3 separate regions of the Homo sapiens genome follow, and regions 2 and 3 are each linked to region 1. The links are contacts of gene promoters, found by promoter capture Hi-C in blood cells and fetal thymus (Javierre and others, 2016). All regions are on one chromosome and are shown on one strand. Each heading gives the region's core, a stretch centred on a gene start or on the middle of the fragment in contact. The rest is flanking DNA. Distances are from core to core; before and after follow the strand shown. Region 1 holds the start of ZNF397 (zinc finger protein 397). Region 2 has its middle 22 kb from the start of ZNF24. Region 3 overlaps MAPRE2 (microtubule associated protein RP/EB family member 2).

Region 1 (3,323 bases), core at 651-3,150:
GCTCCAGGCTGTAAATTCCTTTTCCCACATCACTTTTCTCCGTTCCCACCTGCTGCCCTGGGTCATCAAACTCCCTCTCTAAATCCTCCAACAGGGTCACAGCTTCCTCGCCGCTTTCTGGATTATGTTGCTGAACCCAGATCTGCAGCTCCTCAGGCAGAATGCTCAGGAACTGCTCCAGTACCAGCAGTTCTAAGATCTGCTCCTTTGTGTGCAACTCTGGCATTAGCCACTGATAGCAAAGTTCCTGGAGTCGGCTCAGAGCCTCCCGGGGCCCAGGTGTCTCCTGGTAGCAAAATTTTCTGAATTGCTGACGAAACAATTCTTGGCAGGATTGAGTACTCCCATTCTGCTTAAATTTCTCATCCCAGGAAAAGTTATCTTCTACTTTCACTAGTATTAGTTCTTGTTCCGGAGGATCCTGAGGTATCAGGGTTGAAATCACTCCAGATTCCACAGCCATTCTTGGCTGAAACAGCTTAGCAAAAAGCTCAGTACAACTGGTTCTGTGCTTGCGAAGGAGTGTGAGTAATCTCTTCTTTCCTGAAGGATATAAAAGCAGTTAACTTACAGCAATCAATAAAATCTCTAAGTACTTGTAATAAGAAAGATGAGTAACTTTAGTAATATATTGAAAGGGAGTAGATTTGGGGCTATCACTAAATAAAACAATAATGTGATGATAAACTAAAAATCATTAACCTCAATTAGTGTCTCCCATTATGAAGAATTCCTACCACTAATGTTAGAAAAAACTATTTTAGAAGCCTAAGAATGTGAATGCAACATTAACATCAATCACATAGTGAGAAAATTTCCTTTCCAATTCTTTCAATTCTGATTGTATCAAGGAGAAAAGTCTATCTTTAACATGTATGTATTAATAAAACTTGTAGAACTCTCTTTTAAATAAAATACAGGCTTCAGAATCAGACTTCCAAGAGTAAAAATATTTAGGCAGAATTTAGTAATACTGATTTTAAACATTTATTTTTACTTACTTTCTATCTAAAGCAAGTAATGTTGATTTTCATTTAAGGCAGTAATAACGTTTTTTTAAAAGTTCACATTAAACATGAGTTGATGTAAATATTGGATATTTGTCATTTGATCGCATTTGGTGTTTACCGAATTACTTCAACAAACACTGAGGCACTTACTGAGCATTAAGATTTTTGCTTATGAATAAACGAGTCTACAGAGGAATTGACCAAGAACCAAGACGTATCTGTAAAATGCTTACCATGTGTTCAAAAACATGATAGGTATCACATACACAAAAGCAGCAAAGAGATCCGTATCAGTTCTGAAAAAGCTTAGAATATCCCAAGACTAAAAATGTTCAAAAGCAAAATATGGTAACAAATAGGTATTAAATGTTGTGACACAGACCAAACTTGACCTGCTTTTAGGATGGCGAGATATCGATAGGAATGTATGCCCTTAGTTTGTCAGGACAGATGAGTAAAATTCATTCCTCACACTACGGTTAACGTTAAGAGATGAATTAAAATATTTAGCCTACAAATTTAAGGTTTAACCAGTCCGGCCGCACTAACTAACTAACTAACTAGCCCTTCTATTTTTATATCCTTGGTTAAACCGCAGCATTTACGAAGTCACGGGGTCAGCGGAACTGCGTTTTCCTTTGGAAAGCAGGAGTTTGAGTGCTGGCCTCCTCTGAGTTCCCCAGTCGCTTGGAGACGCCGCGCGGGCCAAAGGGCCGCGACCTGGGGATGGGCAGGCCGAGGAGCGGAGCTCCTCCACTGTCCGGCGCGCGCTCCCAACCCCACCTCCCTCTTCCTAGGGGCCCACGTCCCTCACCGCGAAGCCCAGGAGCGGCCAGGAAATGAGCCACCCACCCCGAGCTGCAAGCCACAAAGACCGGAAGTGCGCGTACGCAGTGTTCCGCTCTCGCGCCCTTCGGGTCCTCCGCCGCCCCGCCCCTTGCTCTGAGGTAGCCAATCAGAGCCGCGGGCTCTACAGTTTCCACCGCCTTCTCCCGGTAGCCGCTAGCCCGGCGGAATCTCCAAGGCCAGGGGAGGGTGCGCTAGGAGTCAGGGGTCCTTGTGAGCGGCGGCACCTGGAGGGTCCCGCATCTCGCCTGGGCCGTTCCCACCCTGGCTTTCTCCTGGCACCACCCATCATTGTTGGTCTCAAGTAATTCCCGAATCTCACTCCCAGTTTTCCATTAAAATATTCAGATTTTCGGCCGGGCGCGGTGGCCGAGGCGGGCGGATCACGAGGTCAGGAGATAGAGACCATCCTGGCTAACACGGTGAAACCCCGTCTCTACTAAAAATACAAAAATTTAGCTGGGCATGTTGGCGGGCGCCTGTAGTTCCAGCTACTCGGGAGGCTGAGGCAGGAGAATGGCGTGAACCCGGGAGGCGGAGCTTGCAGTGAACTGAGATGTGCTGCACTCCAGCCTGGGCGACAGAGCGAGACTCTGTCTCAAAAAAAAAAAAAAAAAAAAAACCTCAGATTTTCCTGTGATTCCAGTTCTTTTCCGACAAAAGTAAATGTAAGGATGAATAGGCTGAACAAAAACTAACAGTCACTTATATTGCTTTTGCCTATGAGTATCACTGGAGCCTTACAACAGTTCTGTGCTGTGGCTATATAATCCCAAATTTACAGCCGTAGACATCGCCCAAAGTCAGGCAACTTGTGACCAGGGACGTCCACGTCCCCATAGTTCAAGGAGACTGGTATCGTAGACTCCTGGAGCCTATCTTAGGGTCTTCCCGTTCTTCAGTGGAAGCTTGCTGGTATTGTCTCACTGTTTAAATTTTTCTTTGGCTATTTAGTCGGTGAAAAATGATGCCTCATGTTTCAACTTTGTGAGCTTAAGATAGTCCCCCTTCATGTTTACTGACCATTTATGGTTCTTCAGAGATGGCTTTTCCCATTTAAAAAATTAAGGGAGTAAGATTTTTCTTTTTTATTTGTGAGAATTTTTTGCTTATTAAGGATAGCAACTCGTTTGTTGCAAATCGTTTCCCATTTATTTGTATTTATTTTTAAAACGTTACATTTTACATGTTTAAATGTTACATATTTTTAAAATGTTATATTAAAAAAGTACACAGGATAATAACAAAGCGATACATACATACATAGAAACAAATTCTCCTTTGTGAGCCAAGACTTAAAACACATATTTGAGAAAAATGTTCGTTAGCATTCAAAGCTATTAGTGACTCACTAAATAATTTTATCATTGTGAAATGACTACAGCAATTTTACAAAGCAAAAAACCAAATAATATTAATTTGTTTATAAATTATCAATTGCTTCATAATGAACCACTTCAAGACTTA
Region 2 (2,957 bases), core at 336-2,835, 81 kb before region 1:
GCATCTAAAAAGAATAAGTTTTCTGTCATTGGTTGCACTGTTATCTATACATCCGTGAGGCCATTTTATTAATTAAATTGTCAACCTACACTGTAATTCCTTAGAATTTTTTTTCTGTTTGTTCTATATTTTACAAATGTGAGAGTTGTTTCAGTGTGTAGAGGTCATGATAATAAATACATAAAAGAAAATATTGTGAGAATTGTGAAAGTCTCCTACTAGGATTACAGAATTATCACTTATTTTAGTTTTGTCAATTTAAGCTTTATATATTTTGGAGTGAAATTATTGTTATGTACATGAGGTTCTTGGCTCTCAATAGAAATTAGTAATAGAAATGAAGATGAGGCCAGGCAAACTTTTCCTAGACAAGGGTTATTAAGACTTACCCCCAGAAAGGCTGGGCATAAGGAAGACAGAAAAGGAAAAAGTTCTTGGGCTGACTCCCCAAGGGGAGTGCATCGTGATGTCTTAAGGAGGGTGGCATGCAGAATTCATGAGGTAGGTGAGTGTCACTATATGTGCAGGGTAGAATGCAGTGTGCAGATACAGTAAGGAATCTTGGTAACATATATGACCATAAAAGGGCAGATAAGCCCCTCCTTGGGCAGGAATTTTAGTATTATAATGAAGCATGGGTCAAAGATTGGTCATTCTTCTGGTTTTGTGCACATGTAGGTGATAGGGTTAACTCCTTTGAGTGAAATTCATGTTTGGGTGTTGCTTATTGTGGTTTTTCAAGGTCCCACAATCAGCAGATATGGTGCCTTGAGTAAGATTTATGGTGGGATGCTGCTTATCTTAGTTTCTTCAGAGAGTTTGCAAGGTCTGGTCAGCAGGTATGTATGAAAAAATACATTGGTGGGGGCTGGCTGAGTCCCACCTCTACCCTGTTTCATTCCCCCTGAGAGATTTTACCCTCCTTATTCTTAAGGAGAAGGGGATGGAGGTCTTGTCTTCTGGAGCTGCTTCTTCCTGAACTGGACTGTTGTCGTTGCCTAACATTGGAGGTTGTAAAAATCTCTTGCTGACTGATCTAATGATTTATAGGGACTTAGATACTCCTAGTATAGTATATGTTGTTCCATCATCAGCTTGACTGGGGACTGTTGAAGCCTGGAAGATACGAGCTTCAACCATCCACACCCTTGTTGAGTCAGCTTCCTAGTCCTGAGAATAGATTAGTTTAAACAACTGTGTCTCATTCCAGGAGGTGGCATTGCAAACAGGCTGAGCCTCTATATTAATGAAGGCAAACAGGTTTTTAATAAGAGGCATTTTTATGGAAACAGAAGAAAAACAAAGGTTAATGTTGGACACAATGTATCTAGATGTTAGACTCAAAATATCTTTAGTTACCAGGGAGGAAGGTGGTGGCAACCTGACACATTTTTCTTGCCTATATCATGAGAAATAAGCTTCAGCTTGCAGAGCCTCAGGAACATGGGGGCAGCAATTTCATTGAGTCCTAGTCTGAAAAATAGAAGAAAATTTTGAAAATGTTGGTTTGGAGCCCAGAAAGAATTGAAGAGCCAATCCAAATTGTAGAAAATAATAAAAACTCAAAAACAACAGACAAGAACTGGAATCCAATAACTGGTGCACTATACATTTTCTTTTTAAACAAAACGTAATCTTCCTGTCCAGTCTCCCAGTTTTACCAAAGATAAATCATGCTGGAATATGGTATAACAAGACTAAAACTTATCTTGCGGTAAGTTTTAGTCTTTTTTTTTTGAGACAGAAGCTTGCTCTGTCACTCAGGCTGGAGTGCAGTGTGCACTCTCAGCTCACTGCAACCACTGCCTCCTGGGTTCAAGTGATTCTCGTGCCTCAGCCTCCCGAGTATCTGGGATTGCAGATGTGCATCACCATGCCCAGCTAATTTTTGTATTTTTAGTAGAGAAAAGGTTTTTTTTTCCATGTTGGCCAGGCTGGTCTCGAAGTCCTGGCCTCGGGTGATCCACCTGCCTTGGCCTCCCAAAGTGCTAGAATTATAGGTGTGAGCCACCATGTCTGGCTGTTTTATCTTATTATACTTGCTGTGATTATTTGCATAAAGTACAGCAAGAATAATCATTTGCCATGTAGTATCCTTTTTTTAAAAAAAACTGGTTTTGCTGAAACTTCCATAGGAATCTCTGGTTAGACTTTTTAAAGCCTTGAGCCCCACTGTGGATGTATTTGCGCCTACAAATACTTGTATGAATTGGGTGAACTCCTTTCCTCTACAAGTCTTATAATAGTTTGGGGGCTCCTGGACCTGTCAGAAAGTGACATTCTTTTCCACAGGTCAGGAACCCTGTGCAGGGACTGCATAGACAAAGTATGAGACCATTTCCTCCAAGGAGCTTTTATTGGTTCTCTAAGTAATCCCCAATTTTTAAAAGCAATCTGAAAGCATGCTATTCCAGTCAAAGCCTTAAAACAAAAAGTGTCTCTAATTATGCCTGTTACAAAAGAAGACAGATTCTTATTGCACTTAGGCAAACAACTATATTGCTGCAAGTTAGGAATACTCACAAATAATTTTCAAATTCTGGAGAAGTTAACTAGACAGAAAGAAATAATGCCCCAAATTTTGCTTACAGAAGTCTACTTTACTCAGTTGTTAAAAGGTATAAATAGCTTAACAGAGAAAAAAGTTTTCTTGATTCTGAAAAACTTAGAAGGATCAGCAATGTTTTAAATAAAAAGGTCTAAGAAAGATTATTTCAGTCTTTTTTTGTTGTTTTGAAACAGGGTCTGGCTCTGTCACTCAGACTAGAGTGCAGTGGTGTGATCACAGCTCACTGCATCCTCATCCTCCCGGGCTAGAGCAACCCTCCTACTTTAGCCTCTTGAGTAGCTGGGACCACAGGCATATGCCACTATACCCAGCTTATTGATTGATTGATTGTAGAGACAGGGTCTCCCTATATTGCCCAGGCTGGTCTCAAACTCCTGGGCTCAAGTGA
Region 3 (3,372 bases), core at 91-2,590, 120 kb after region 1:
TAATTATATTCTCAGGGTATTATCAAACAGAGCTTGAAAAAAAAACTGAAATGTTTGATAAGATGTAGAAGGGGTCATGGCAAGCCAAACCCCTGGGCAAAGCCACGTTATCGGGGAAGAGCAACTATGAAGAAGCAGAGGACACTGGCCAGGAGAGCAGTGAGACACGCAGGGAGAATCCCCGGCCGCTGGAGGCGCTCAGCATGGCTCACGGCAGGGAGGGAGGGCACAGCTGCTGCAGTTACTGATGCTCTCCCCCTTCTAGCCACACACAGCCACTTGGGGAAACAGGTTTTGTTTTGTTTTCTTCCCCTGAGGAAATATCCCTTTCTGTTAACAGAGCCCAACTTCAACCTGCCTGTGTGGCTTGGACTCACCAAGCTGTGGTTCAGCAGAGTCTCGGCCCTAAAATGGCATCTGTGCTCACGAATCAGGCAAAGGTCAGGTGGTGGCCTAGGGCCCCAGGGCTTTCCCACTGGCACACACACGTGCACCTCCTGGATCCCTTTGAGATGAGAGAGGTGCAGGCGATGAAAATCAGGCTCGGCAACCTCTGCTGCTCCACCACCTACACACATGTGGGATGGAAGCACCGCTTCTGCCCCACCGTTAAGCCTCACTAACGGGGACACAGTGCAGGCTGAGTGAAGGAAGAAATGGAAAAAAAATTCTAAACATTTAATAATCAATCACTTAGGTAACTAGTATTTGATATTTAAAATGAGAGGGATCTTGAAATTCTATTGTTCGGAGAAAAACTGATAACAGGAAAATAAATGATGCATGAGGATATGTGAGATCAGGCCTACTTAACTACATTTTTACCTTCAAATGAATAAATGTGAAGAAATTAAAGAACAGGAAAGGCATGGGAAAGATCTTAGTATCTTCCGAGGTTTGGGTAAAACAACAACTACAACAAAAAAACCCCATAATTAACAGTTAAACTAAAAGCTTGTTTTCAAATAAATGTAAAGTGGGCTCATTAAATCATCCCAAGCTGCAATTTGAAACGGAAGTAATTTACCCCTCACAGCTGTCACATGATTAAGAAATACTAAATGTATAAAAATAAAAATGAAACCTTTTGTCCTCATTATATTCAATGATTTCATGTTTTCTTTTTCAGAATAAATAAAAGACAATATCCTAACATACAGCATAACTCTTTAGAGTTAAGAACTTGTTTTTGTTTATTTGCTTTCTAGGTCTCGCTGCCTTCTAACAACCACACTCTAAAATTTCTGGGGCTGCCAGATACTCTTTCCCCCTTACCTGGGCACTAGAACAAGAATGTTCTCACAAAACTGCACAGTTATCAATGTCATAAACTTAACATTGATAGAATACTTTTATGTGAGCTACCATCTGTATTCCAATCTCGTAAACTGCTCCAAACATGTCTCTGACAGCATCCAATCCTGGTTTTAGATACTGAAGTCCTCAATAGCTATCTTCTTGCTTCCCAGAATGCCCCACTCCATCAGTGATTTGACTTCTGTACCTTTACCAGGCCTCTTGGCTCAATGATGCTTATGTGGAAAACATTTACATAACAGCTTTTACAGAGAGTGCACCTACTTTGGCTGTAATACAGATATAGATTTTTTTTTCTTGCAGCTGATTCAAACATTTCAAATTTTTTTTCAAGCTGCATTTGAGGATGTCCTGAGAACATAATTAGTAGTGGCCCTGTTTACAAGTAACCATTTTGCCCTCAAGCTTTTCTACCTCCCTAATTTTACCTTTCAAAATAAAAAGGAATCTCAGAAGCAGAGGAAAAAAGCATAAATTCTGTCTAAGTCCCTGTAATTCTCTGAATTTGCTCACTGGACATGATTTACAATGCTAGTCTTTGAGCAGTTGTGTCTTAATTAATGCCTTTAGGATTTGGGGGTATAAATATGATTCTGACATTTTAACCATAGTTGTAAAAAAATTCGGAGTGGTCAGATTCACTGCCTTAGTGAAGCCAGGGCATTACCGTGTCTAATGTCAATAACTAGTAGCTTGCTTAATGTTTATGGAAAACGCTGCAACAAGTTGGGCATATGAGGCCCAATGGATTCAGAAGGATGAAGCAAATCAAAGCACTGGACTTGGCTTTATCCTTCATGGCCAAGACTCTGCTGGAATTTAGAAATTCTTTTCACATAATCTGCCATATTATTCCTTTTGCCAAAGTCATAAACAGAGGAGATAAAAATATGACATTAATACTGTTGACAAGAGACATTAAAAACATGAGCGTGTGCACACACACATGCAGGCGGCCACCACTCTTCTGGTCATGGTCAATCCCAATTTTTCTCTACTTTGAGAGCCCCTTCCCTTCCCAAACCATCCCCCTAGCCGTTCTCACTCAATTGAAGAAAACCCAGAGCTGAACAACTATGGCAGAAGATACACTGCATCTGTATTGATTCATTGTGGATGGATTTGATATTACTTTCTTATCCCCTGCACCTTGGCAAAGAGATTATATTTTTTAACAGATGATGAGCTTGGTTAAAAAAAAAAGTAATGTCATTGCTGGAGAAAGGGTATGGGCTAGACTGATGAGGAGAGTGAATTCCATAGGAAGAGGACTTCCTCAGTAACTGAACTGACACCACAGCCCTCATACTGCAATAGGGTTGCCAGTCCCTACAGAATTCTGATTACTGCAAATTCAAGTTATATTGACCTAGTCTTTCCTTCAAAACTGCCTCCGTACTGTCACTTTGTAGATTCTGTAATCTGCTCTGAGCTGAGGGCAAAAAAGCACCTCAGTGGACAGATTTCCATCCAAATGAAACTTTAACAGGGTTCTGGGATGCTCTGATTCATGAGATCACTAGGAGGCTGGTTTTTTAATTCTGAAATTGGCAGTTTACAGCCCTTAGGACTTCTGTTCTGACCAGTGCAGCCAGTGGTGAGGTCTGCAGCTCTTCCTTTTCAGTGGAGGCTCTTAAGAGTGGGCAGTCCTCCTTGAGCAGCTAGGGGCAGCTCCACACAGCAGGCACTAGCCACACCAATCTCGTGGGAATGAAGACCTGGTAGGGAATTGGACATCCTTCACCTGCCTCTAGGGAGGGAGTGAGTGCAGTGGTCAAGAGTGGGGGCTCTGCAGCCAGAGAGCCTTCTTAGGGGTCCCAGCTCCACTACTTCCTGACTGGTGTGGCTTTGTGGCCACCTTGCTTTACATTTAAGAAAGGAGGAGCAGCACCAACTTCTCAGAGTTGGGAGGGGTACATGACTTAATACATGGAAAATGCTTACACAAGGGTCTGGCACACAGCATGTGCTCAATAAATGGTAGCTTACATTACTATTATTACTCAGCAAATAAGACCTGATTCAACAAATGATGCAAAAGTGCACTTGTTTCCC

What was found. Contacts are between HindIII fragments. The CHiCAGO score rates a contact against its expected background, and 5 or more counts as called.
Region 2: a fragment that was not itself captured here is called in contact with the fragment with the promoter of ZNF397 in region 1 in 5 of 17 cell types (total CD8 T cells, megakaryocytes, naive CD4 T cells and 2 more); the score reaches 7.2 in total CD8 T cells.
Region 3: a contact is called between a fragment that was not itself captured here and the fragment with the promoter of ZNF397 in region 1, in 2 of 17 cell types (total CD8 T cells and total B cells). The highest score is 5.3, in total CD8 T cells.

Annotation. Positions count from the first base shown.
Region 1 is chr18:35,239,611-35,242,933 of GRCh38, reverse strand. ZNF397 (zinc finger protein 397) reads right to left here and starts at 1,900. Exons shown (of 4, transcript NM_001135178.3): 1 at 1,825-1,900; 2 at 50-543. The coding sequence starts at 463. RefSeq lists a silencer at 1,719-1,848 and enhancers at 1,638-2,163, 2,109-2,218. The HindIII fragment of the contact is 1,449 bases long and covers 1,318-2,766 here.
Region 2 is chr18:35,320,904-35,323,860 of GRCh38, reverse strand. No RefSeq gene overlaps it. Among named protein-coding and RNA genes, the nearest start is that of ZNF24, 22 kb to the left of the region's middle. The HindIII fragment of the contact is 329 bases long and covers 1,421-1,749 here.
Region 3 is chr18:35,119,875-35,123,246 of GRCh38, reverse strand. The region is part of intron 4 of MAPRE2 (microtubule associated protein RP/EB family member 2); the gene reads right to left. Among named protein-coding and RNA genes, the nearest start is that of MAPRE2, 80 kb to the right of the region's middle. The HindIII fragment of the contact is 768 bases long and covers 957-1,724 here.